4 separate regions of the Homo sapiens genome follow, and regions 1, 2 and 4 are each linked to region 3. The links are contacts of gene promoters, found by promoter capture Hi-C in blood cells and fetal thymus (Javierre and others, 2016). All regions are on one chromosome and are shown on one strand. Each heading gives the region's core, a stretch centred on a gene start or on the middle of the fragment in contact. The rest is flanking DNA. Distances are from core to core; before and after follow the strand shown.

The links. Contacts are between HindIII fragments. The CHiCAGO score rates a contact against its expected background, and 5 or more counts as called.
Region 1: a contact is called between a fragment that was not itself captured here and the fragment with the promoter of IL20RB-AS1 in region 3, in 11 of 17 cell types (monocytes, naive CD8 T cells, neutrophils and 8 more). The highest score is 8.5, in monocytes.
Region 2: a fragment that was not itself captured here is called in contact with the fragment with the promoter of IL20RB-AS1 in region 3 in 4 of 17 cell types (activated CD4 T cells, neutrophils, total B cells and 1 more); the score reaches 6.4 in activated CD4 T cells.
Region 4: a fragment that was not itself captured here is called in contact with the fragment with the promoter of IL20RB-AS1 in region 3 in 7 of 17 cell types (neutrophils, monocytes, naive B cells and 4 more); the score reaches 8.8 in neutrophils.

What each region holds. Positions count from the first base shown.
Region 1 is chr3:136,454,263-136,456,977 of GRCh38, forward strand. The region is part of intron 13 of STAG1 (STAG1 cohesin complex component); the gene reads right to left. Among named protein-coding and RNA genes, the nearest start is that of PCCB, 210 kb to the left of the region's middle. The HindIII fragment of the contact is 1,326 bases long and covers 797-2,122 here.
Region 2 is chr3:136,429,928-136,432,627 of GRCh38, forward strand. The region is part of intron 16 of STAG1 (STAG1 cohesin complex component); the gene reads right to left. It also overlaps the pseudogene RNU6-1284P. Among named protein-coding and RNA genes, the nearest start is that of PCCB, 180 kb to the left of the region's middle. The HindIII fragment of the contact is 1,180 bases long and covers 816-1,995 here.
Region 3 is chr3:136,980,933-136,983,632 of GRCh38, forward strand. IL20RB-AS1 (IL20RB antisense RNA 1) reads right to left here and starts at 1,259. Exons shown (of 4, transcript NR_183729.1): 1 at 1,131-1,259. It overlaps IL20RB (interleukin 20 receptor subunit beta), which reads left to right. Exons shown (of 7, transcript NM_144717.4): 3 at 1,228-1,418. The HindIII fragment of the contact is 2,087 bases long and covers 12-2,098 here.
Region 4 is chr3:136,359,702-136,362,436 of GRCh38, forward strand. All of the region lies in intron 26 of STAG1 (STAG1 cohesin complex component), which reads right to left. Among named protein-coding and RNA genes, the nearest start is that of PCCB, 110 kb to the left of the region's middle. The HindIII fragment of the contact is 9,862 bases long and covers 1-2,735 here.

The DNA.
Region 1 (2,715 bases), core at 210-2,709, 530 kb before region 3:
AGAGACAGGGTTTCACCATGTTGGCCAGGCTGGTCTCGAACTCCTGACCTCAAGTAATCCGCCCACCTCAGCCTCCCAAAGTGCTGGGATTACAGGCCTGAGCCACCGTGATCGGCTTATTTTATGTTTTTTTTGAGATGAAGTCTCACTCTGTCGGCCTGGCTGGACGGCAATGGCATGATCTCTGCTTACTGCAACCTCCGCCTCCTGGGCTCAAGAGATTCTCCTGTCTCGGCCTCTGGAGTAGATAAGATTACAGGCGTGTGCCACCATGCCAGGCCAATTTTTTGTATTTTTAGTAGAGATGGGGTTTCACCATGTTGGCCAGGCTGATCTCGAACTCCTGACCTCAAGTCGTCCACCTGCCTCGGCCTCCCAAAGTGCTGGGATTATGGGGATGAGCCACCATGCCCAGTTTGTGCCAATTTAAATAATTCCATTTATTGCATATAAATAAGGTATTGAGGAATTTGCTTAAATTTTGAGTATTAAAATGTGGAATTTTTGATCATGTAGTAAAACATTCATTTCAGACAGATCTTACTACTTTTTGGATGATTGGTTAATATTGTGAATAGCTTATGACTAGACTACAAGACACTATACGTGTGTGGATGTGTACATTTATGTATCTTTGAAAGCTGATCATGGAACTCCTGGGGATACACCATAGCTTATTTAAGATTTTCTAAGTCACCATATTAAATGATGGAAGAATGATAAAAGAGATCATTAATCAAGTCATCAAACTGTAAGTTTCTCCAAGACACGGGCCTAAAAAACATTTATGGAGTGAAGCTTTCATTTGCATAAGAATTGGCTTGATTTTCACAAAGAAACAAAAACTAATGGAGGCTTATCCTTCTGGATTTCTGTGGCAGATATTCTAATAAAAACTTTTTTTGGTGTTGTGATATCAGCAAGATGGTGGAACAGAAGATTGCCGAGCATCACTCCCCCTACCAAGATACAACCAGAAACTATTCAAACACAAGGATACCACCCTGAATATGCTAGAACTCTGAAGAGAAGTGGAGAAACCCTCTGGGCCCACAGAATCAAGAAACTATGATTAGTAAGAGAAACAGTCATTTCACACGGTGCCAACTGCCCCCTCCCTACAAGCTGGCAAAACTCAAAGAGAATTTCCCTAGACCCATGATTCTGGTAAGAGGGAATTAGAAGTGGAAAATTGCTCTCCTTGCTGGTCTGGGCATCTTTGCAAGAAGCCCACTCCAGTTCCATCCCACGGAACCACTGGGAGTGCCTGGAGGCCAGAAACACCTGGGGTGAACTGGGGAGAAAGAATAGGGTGCTGATCACAGCAACTGGTGCACATCACAGCAACTGGTGCACGGATCTTGGCAGCCACTCGGCACATTGGCCAGTGGGAATGCCATGTTGAAGGGAGTGGCCAGTGCAAAAGCACTGCAAGGGGCACAATCCAAGCGAAGGATCAAATCCCTAGATGTATTTTCCACAAAGCCCAGGTGACTGTATAAAGTCTTTCCTTGGCCTGGAAACAACTAAAAGGTCAGGATTAAGTTGCAGTACCCACTTAAGGATTTCCCAGGTTGGGAAATAATGTAAGGCCAGCAATATAGTTCCAGGGAAGTGTTTAAGCTCCAGTACTAAGAGTCTTCACCAGACTGAGAAAGAACAGAAGTGCAGTGACTTGGTTCTGGAATACTGTTTAAATTCCACTATAAGTTCTTGCCAGACCAAGAAAAAAACAAGAGGCCAGGGTTCAAGTTCTGAAACTAAGAAGTAAAGGTCTAACACTACCAAAGAAAACTTGCAAAAAAGTGGAAGCGGTAGCTATCTCTTCAAATACACAAGCATCAACTTAAGTCAGGGAAATATTACACTACCAAACAAAACCAGCAGAGGTCCAGCAACAGATCCAGAAAAACTGAAGATCTATGAAATGTCTGACAGGCAATTCAGGGTAATCCTCTTAAAAAGAATTTTAAGGAATTACATACACACAAAAAATCCAAATAGAAAACTAAATCAAATTTGAAAAACAAAATGAGAAATATGATGAATAGAAACAATTTTTAAAAATCAAATATACATCCTAGAAATAAAGAATATAACTGAAGTGAAAAACTCACTAGAAAGCTTCAACAGCAAACTTGACCAAACAGAGGAAAGAATTAGTAAGCCTGAAGGCAGAACTTATGAAATTACCTAGTCAGAAGAGCAAAAAGAAAAAAAGAATTTAAAAAGCCTATGAGAATTATGGGACACGTTCAAGCAAACTAACTTCTGCAAAATTAGCATTCCCAAAGGAGACGAGAGAGAAAAAGGGCCTGGAAAGCATATTAAAAGAGTAAGGCTGAAAATTCCCCAAATCTGGAGAAAGACAACAGCATCCAGGAACAGAAAGCTCAGATGTCATCAAACAAATTCAACCCAAAGAGGAATTTCCCAAGGCATATCATAATCAAATTAACAAAAATCAAGGACAAAGAAGAAATATTCAAAGCATCAAAAGAAAAGAATCATATCATATTCAATGGAGCTCCTATATGGCTTTCAGTAGATTTATCAGCAGAAATCTTGAAGGTCAGGATAGACTGGGATGCTATATTCAAAGTTTTGAAGAAAGAAAACTGCTATCCAAGAATACTGTACCTAACAATATCCTTCAAACATGAAAGACAGATAAAGACTTTCCCAGACAAATAGAAGCTGAGGGAATTCATCAAC
Region 2 (2,700 bases), core at 156-2,655, 550 kb before region 3:
CAGTGTATAATACATATTACATACAAAATGTGTTAATCCATTGTTTGTGTTAACAGCTTTAAGGCTTCTGATCATTTAGGTTATTGGTAGGCTATAGTAGTTAAGTTCTGGGGGAATCAAAAGTTACACGTGAATTTTTTAAATTTTAAGATTCATAAAAATATTTCATAAATTTGCATGTCATCCTTGCAAAGGGGCCATGCTCATCTTCTCTATATTGATCCAAATTCAGTATATCTGCTGCCGAAGTGAGCACACATGGATTTTTGACTGTGCAGGTCAGTGCCACTAACCCCTGCATTGTTCAAGGGTAAACGGTATATAATTTCACCCTTAAATATTTCAGCATATGTCTCTAGCAGATGAGGACCACTATAATTCCTCTGTTTTTATTTTTAAATATGAATGATTACTGTAGGGATTATAATATACATTTTTAACTTGTAACTGACTTCAGGTTGATATTGAATTAATTATAATAAAACATAGCAATTTTGCTCCAATATAGTTCCATATCTTTTTCCCTTTTGTGTTACTCTTGTCACATATATTTATGTTATAATCTCAACACTATAGTGCTATAATTATCTACTTAAATCAGGGGTATCCAATTTTTTGGCTTCCCTGGGCCACAATGGAAGAACAATTGTCTGGGGCTACACATAAAATACACTACCACTAACGATAGCTGAAGAGCTTAAAAAAAAAAAAAAAAAGCGAAAATATCTCATAGTGTTTTAAGTTTAAAAATTTGTGTTGGGCTGCATTCAAAGCTGTCCTGGGCCACATGCAGCCTGCAGGCCACAGGTTGGACAAGCTTGATTTAAATAATTTCATGTTCTTTCAAGGAAATTAAGAGAAGGAAACAGACATAGACAGACACACACACACACACACACACACACACACACACACACACACACACAGCCTTTTACCTTTTATATCCACTCACATACTTACCATTTCAGATTTACATTCTTCCTTTTTTTTTTTGGAGACAGAGTCTTACTCTGTCACCCAGGCTAGAGTGCAGTGGGGTGATCTCAGCTCACTGAAACTTCTGCCTTCTGGGTTCAAGCAATTCTCCTGCCTCAGCCTCTCGAGTAGCTGGGATTACAGGCATGTGCCACCATGCCCAGCTAATTTTTGTAATTTTAGTAGAGATGGGGTTTCGCCATGTTGGCCAGGCTGGTCTTGAACTCCTGACCTTAGGTAATCCACCTGCCTTGGCCTCCCAAAGTGACAGGACTGCAGGAGTGAGCCACTGCACCCAGCCCATTCCTTCTTTTTTCATTCCTTCTTGTGGATTTGTTTTATCACCTTATGATATTCCTTATGGCTTGAAGGACTTTTCTTTTTTTTTGAGTCACAGTCTCACTCTGTTGCCCAGGCTGGAGTGCAGTGGCACGATCTTGGCTCACCACAACCTCTGCCTCCCGGGTTCAAGAGATTCTCCTGCCTCAGCCTTCCGAGTGGCTGGGACTACAAGCGTATGCCACCATGCCTGGCTAATTTTTGTATTTTTAGTAGAGATAGGGTTTCCCATGTTGGCCAGGCTGGAGTCGAACTCCTGACCTTGTGATCCACCTGCCTCAGCCTCCCAAAGTGCTGGGATTACAGGCGTGAACCACTGTGCCTGGCTGAAGGACTTCTTTTAGCATTTCTGGTATGGGAGATCTAGCAACACATTCTCCAAATTTTTCCTTTTTGTTTCTCTGGTAATGGTTTTTTACACCTTCATCTTTGGAAGATAATCTTATTAAATTTGTAATTCTTGGTTGGCCATTTTGTTGACTTTCACTGAATATGTCATTCCACTGTCTTCTGGACTCCACTATTTCTGATAAGCTAACTGTTAATACTATTGCTACTGCCCTCTACATTAGTTGTTGATCTCTTGTTGCTTTCAAGATTTTTTGTCTTTGTCTTTTAACAATGTGACTATGTTGTGTCTATATGTGGAACTTTTGTGTTTATTTTATTTGGATTTTGTTAAGCTTCTTGAATCTGCAAATTGTCTCTCATCAAATTTGGGAGGTTTTCAGTGATTATTTCTTCAAATATTTTTTCTGCCTCTATTCCTCTCTCCTTTCCTTCTGGGATTCCCATTATACATATTTCAGTGCACATGATGGTGGTTCCACACATTTCTGAGGCTCTGATAGTATTTCTTCAATCTTTTTTCTTCTCTGTTCTTCAGAATGGATAATTTCTATTAATCTTCATGTTTTTCTATTGTCTCTTTCATCATCTTAAATCTGCTAATTAACTTACTCAGTTAATTTTAAATTTGTGCATTGTACTTCTCACCAGAAATTCCATTTGGGTTTTCATTATTGAGATTCTCTACTTCTTGTTTTCATATTTTCCTGTAATTCTTTGAATATACTTATTAAAAGGCCTCTGAAGTCTTTGCCTGCTAAATCCAACATATAGCCCTACTGAGAAGCCATTTCTATTGTCTGCTTTTTTTCCTGAGTATGGTCACATTTTACTGTTTCTTTGCATGGCTGTAGTTTTTCTTGAAAGTAGACATTTTTGAATAATACAGTAACTAAAGATTTTAATTTTTGTTTTCTTTTTTTTTGGGGGGGGGGGGGCACAGAGTCTTGCTCTGTCACCCAGGCTGGAGAGCAGTGGCATGATCTGGGCTCCCTGCAACCTCTGCCTCTGGGTTCAAGTGATTCTCCTGCTTCAGCC
Region 3 (2,700 bases), core at 9-2,508:
TCCTGACTATAAGCTTATACCTAGAGCCAAAACGAACTATAATCCTAAAGGTCAGCTGGCCCTGGGGCTGAGCAGGCTCTAGTCTTCTCCAGGTGTTCAGGTGCTTGCAGCTATTGAATAGTGATAAGGACACAGAAATTGCTCCATATATTTCATTAACAATGAATACAGACTGAACACCTACATGTGTAGACATTCTTCTAGGCTCAGGGATACAGTTGACAAGGTTTCTGGATTTTGAGAGCTTACATCTAGAGGAGGATACAGATGATAAATATACTAGGCCAGCATTCTCTAGTATGGTAGCCACCAGCCACAGCTGGCTATTTAAATTTAAATTAAATTAAATTAAATTAAATTAAATTAAAATGTCTGTTTCCTGCCACACTAGTCACATTTTAGGTGTTCAATAGCCACATGTGGCCAGTGGTTACCATATTGAACAACATCGATTTAGAATATTTGCATCATCACAGAAAGTTTATTTTTGGAAAGCACTGCTCTAGGGAATTTTGGATAGTAATCAGTGCTAGGAGGAAGCTAAAAGGCTGATGCCATAGAGAGTTGACACTGAGGCTCCTTTATATTAGATGGCCTGGGATGGCCTCTCTGAGGAGGTGATATTTATGCCATATCTGAAGGACAAGAGGAGCCAGCCATGCGAACAGCAGGGGCAGAGCGTTTGAGATGGAGTGAACAGTTAGTCAAAGGTCCTAAGGCAAAAAGTGCTCAGCATTTTGGAGAAATGACCAATGTGGCAAGAATATCACGCTTCGGAGCAGAGTGAGAGAGAAGGCCAAAGCATCTTGTAAGACCACTGGCAAGAGTTTGGATCCCATTCTAAGTCCTGTAGGAAGCCATTAAGGAGAGAAACGTCACAATCTGCTGAGTGGTGAATGGTTTTGAGAATGGCAGGTGTCCAAGCTGGGAGATCACAGCAAGGCAAGGAATGACAGTGGCTGAGATTAGGGTGATGACCCTGGAGATGAAGAGATAAAAGAGATCCAGACACATTGATGTTTATGCCTAGCTTTCCCTATCTGGCAATAAAAGGAGTAAGGGACGATGGATGGTTGGTAGGGAGGAGAGTGGAGGAGCTAGGATAATGAGAAAGTACTTATTTTACTTACCTGTACAAAGTAGGTGAACGAAGTCAGTTACTTGCAACCATAACTGAGCCTGTGTCAGAGGGGCTGGTGTAACTCTGTGCCCTCCTCTCTTTGACAGGGAGTACGAGAGCCTGTACACGAGCCACATCTGGATCCCCAGCAGCTGGTGCTCACTCACTGAAGGTCCTGAGTGTGATGTCACTGATGACATCACGGCCACTGTGCCATACAACCTTCGTGTCAGGGCCACATTGGGCTCACAGACCTCAGCCTGGAGCATCCTGAAGCATCCCTTTAATAGAAACTCAAGTAAGGCACTTCTCTCCTTACACTCCCACCCCAACCAGCCCCTCCTTTAGGAACCATGTTCACCTAAACTTTCTAGACTCTTTTTAGCATCAGAATAGTCCTGCAAAGCCAGAGTATTGTGAACACAAACAACCCTTACTGGTATATTTGAAAAATTGCCAACTGCTTTCTACATGCTGCTCTCTGTCATGCCCTTTGACTACTCAAGTCATTCCTGACTGTCTGTGTCAGGGTGTGCAGGTGTTGGGGATGCTGACATTGGGAACCTGGAAGGAAAGCTGCTCTGGAAGTGAAGAGGTGGCACCAGGACTGCTGCTCCCTACTCTGATTGTGCCTCCATAAATTGTGCCTCCCACTTGAGGCCTCATTAACTGCATATTTACTGCCCACGTAAGCAGCTTTGTTGTGCAAGAGGATTTATACACTTAACAGAGCCACCAGAAAATTGCCCTTCTGTAATGACTTCTGTGGGAAATAAATAACTTTTCTTTTGGAGTAGTACCTGGAAAAGGATTGAGAAAGAAGTAATAGAGGAATCCAGATAGGTGGCCAAATGTGGCTGAGTACAAGCACTGGTCATTGTATAAAAGGACATGTGTGTTTGCGGAACAGGAGAGGCAAGGGCTGATGGGCAGGGGGTAGGGAAGCAGTTGATCATGTGGTGAAGGGCTTTGACACGAAGCTTGACCAAGTCAGTAGAGGGTAGCCAATGAAAGAGGAGAGGATCTAGACCAGGTCTATCTCTTTTTTTTTTTGATACGGAGTCTCACTCTGTCACCCAGGTTGGTGTGCAGTGGCGTGATCTCAGCTCACTGCAACCTCTGTCTCCTGGGTTCAAGTGATTCTCCTGCCTCAGCCTCCTGAGTAGCTGGGACTACAGGCGTGCACCACCATGCCTGGCTAATTTTTGTATTTTTAGTAGAGACAGGGTTTCACTATGTTTTCCAGGCTGGTCTGGAACTCCTGACCTCAAGTCATCTGCCCACTTCGGCCTCCCAAAGTGCTGGGATTACAGGCATGAGCCATGGCGCCCGGCCGACCAGGTCTATCTTACAAAGCAACACTCTGGCTGCTGTGTGGAAAGTGAACCAGAGTAGGGCAAGCCTGCAGGACAGGGGAAGAGTGAGGAGGGGGTTGTAATACTCCTACTGATCCCAAGAGTTTGGAAGGGGATGGGAAGGAGATGATGAATCCAAGAAACATGGCTGATTTAGAAAGGACAGAGCTTAGGAATCAAGTTTGTGGGGACAGAAAAGGGAGAGATAATGATAGTATTCAGCTG
Region 4 (2,735 bases), core at 210-2,709, 620 kb before region 3:
AGCAGAGATCTTGGCCAAGCTGGTCTCAAACTCCTGTCCTCAAGTGATCCGCCTGCCCTGGGCTCCCAAAATGCTGGGATTACAGGCGTGAGCCACCACACGTGGCCAAAAGAATGTATTTTGAGATGGGAAAAGGAAATATATTTATAGAAGTACACTGTATATTTATAAACATCTATTCTTTTTGTTATTGTTTTTACAGGAATGACAATATATGAAATATAGGGTTAAGAGGTTTGTTTTTTCACTTATTATATTTCAAACAAGAACATTATATAAAAGAAGACCATTTACATACATGGTGCTATGATTTTTCCCACCCAGTAACAAAATATACCAAAAAGTTCTTAAGCTGGGTGGAGTTTTATAAATTGCATATCTGTTAGCTATTTCCTGTGAAAATAACAACAAAAACAGAACCCTGGAGGTAATATACAAGCAATTATCATTCCACTACCAAATCTAAAAACTTAATTTTATCTGTAGACATCTACCTTTCCTCCTGTTATGAGGGGTGAACTGTCCAGACTTTCACCTAAAGCCATTCCCTCCTATGTATTAGATAAGAAGGGAGTATGTAAGGTTTCGCCTGCTCAATAGTTTTGCTCTTGTGTTTACTGCTCTCTCCTGCCTCCTAAACTATTCCTTCTGTACTAGATGTATACATCTTAAAAATACTCTTAACTTCTTGACCCCATTTCCTCTGCCAGCTACTAACCCATTTCTCTGATTCCCTTTATAGCAAAGGTCCTGAAAAGTATTGTTGACATTTCTTTTCTTCAGTCTCTCACCTCCCAATCTCTCAATTTATTCTAATCACACCATTCACTGAAATAGCTCCTGGGTGCTAATATGTTCTGCACCTTTTTAGTTTTCTTCAGCAATAGATTGGCCTGAACTACTTGCTATGTCATTACTGAAGGAACAGTTCTTCCAGGGATTTCAAATTTATTCATAGATAATTGTTTATAAATTCTTTTTTTTTCCTGAGGAGTCTCGCTCTGTCACCCAGGCTGGAGTGCAATGGCATGATCTTGGCTCACTGCAAGCTCCACCTCCTGGGTTCATGTCATTCTCCTGCCTCAGCCTCCTGAGTAGCTGGGGCTACAGGCGCCCGCCACCACACCCAGCTAATTTTTTGTATTTTTAGTAGAGAGGGGGTTTCACCATGTTAGCCAGGATGGTCTCGATCTCCTGATCTTGTGATCTGCCCGCCTCAGCCTCCCAAAGTGCTGGGATTACAGGCTGTTTATAAATTCTTAAACTTTAAAATGTTTTCACATATTGGTATATACAATAGCCTTAAACTTTAAAACTTAAAGTGTACATTTAAAGTGAATACAAAGAATACATTTTGTTGTGAAAAATTCAAAGAATATCAAAGTAAAAGTTATTCTTTCTCTCTTCTACCAAATACCATTATTCTCTCCAAAGGTAACCAGTGTTTAAAGTCTGAAAGTTTTCTAGATCAGTGTAGACATATTACTTTTACAGCTAAAGTTTTTATTTTTACATAAATGGTAGCATACTGCATTTGTCCTGAAACTTGCTATTTTTCACTCAATATTTTGTCTTAAAAATCCTTTATCTAGCTCAGTTTATTTAACCATTCCCCTGTTGATAGACATTTAGACTATTTCCAGTTTGTTACTATTACAGAGACTGCTGCAATAAAACATCTTTTACATATATTTATTGGTACACACCTGTGCATATCCATGTAGATACCTAGAAGCAAAATTACTGGCTTAAAGGGAATATATATCTTCAATTTTGGAATATACTACAAAACTGTCTTCTAACAAGGCAGTTTTCAAAAGGGGCCTTTTCCTCTATATCTTTGTCAATCATTTTCATTCATGCCAATCTGTTGAGCAGTAAGTATCCATTTTAATTTGTATTTCATTAATAATAATTATTATTATTAGAAATGGGGTCTCACTCTGTCACCTAGGCTGGAAGGCAGAGGTGCAATCATAACTCACTGCAGCTTGGACCTCCCAGGCTCAAGCCATCCTGTCACTTTACCCTCCCGAGTAGCTGGGACTACGGGGTGCGTGCCAACACATCTGGCTATTTTTGTTTTTGTTTTTGGAGACGGGGTCTTGCCATGTTGCCCAGGCTGGTCTTGAATTCATGGGCTCAAGCAATCTGCCTGCCTTGGCCTCCCAAAGTGCTGGAATTACATGTGTGAGCCACTGTGCTTGGCTTTCATTAATTATTAATTACTTATGTTATATATAATTAATGCTTCTTTTCTTTCTTTTTTTTGAGACAGAGTTTTGCTCTTGTGGCCCAGGCTGGAGTGCAATGGCATGATCTTGGATACCTGCAACCCCCGCCTCCCAGGTCCAAATGATTGTCTTGCCTCAGCCTCCTGAGAGTAGCTGAGATTACAGGCACCCGCCACCACGCTTGGCTAATTTTTTGTATTTTTAGTAGAGATGGGGTTTCATCATGTTGACCAGGCTGGTCTCGAACTCCTGACCTCAGGTGATCTACCCGCCTCGGCCTCCCAAAGTGCTGGGATTACAGGTGTGAGCCACTGCGTCCAGCCTAATGCCTCTTCTCATGTTTACTGGTTTGTAAGATTCTTCCTTGGAAAAGTGCCTTTTTCATATCCCTCGCTCACTTTTCTATGGGATTTATTTATCTTTCCTACTGATCTGTAGGATTTGTTATGTAGGACTGAAAATATTTCCATCTGTCACTTTTTTTTTAACTTTGCTCAAAGT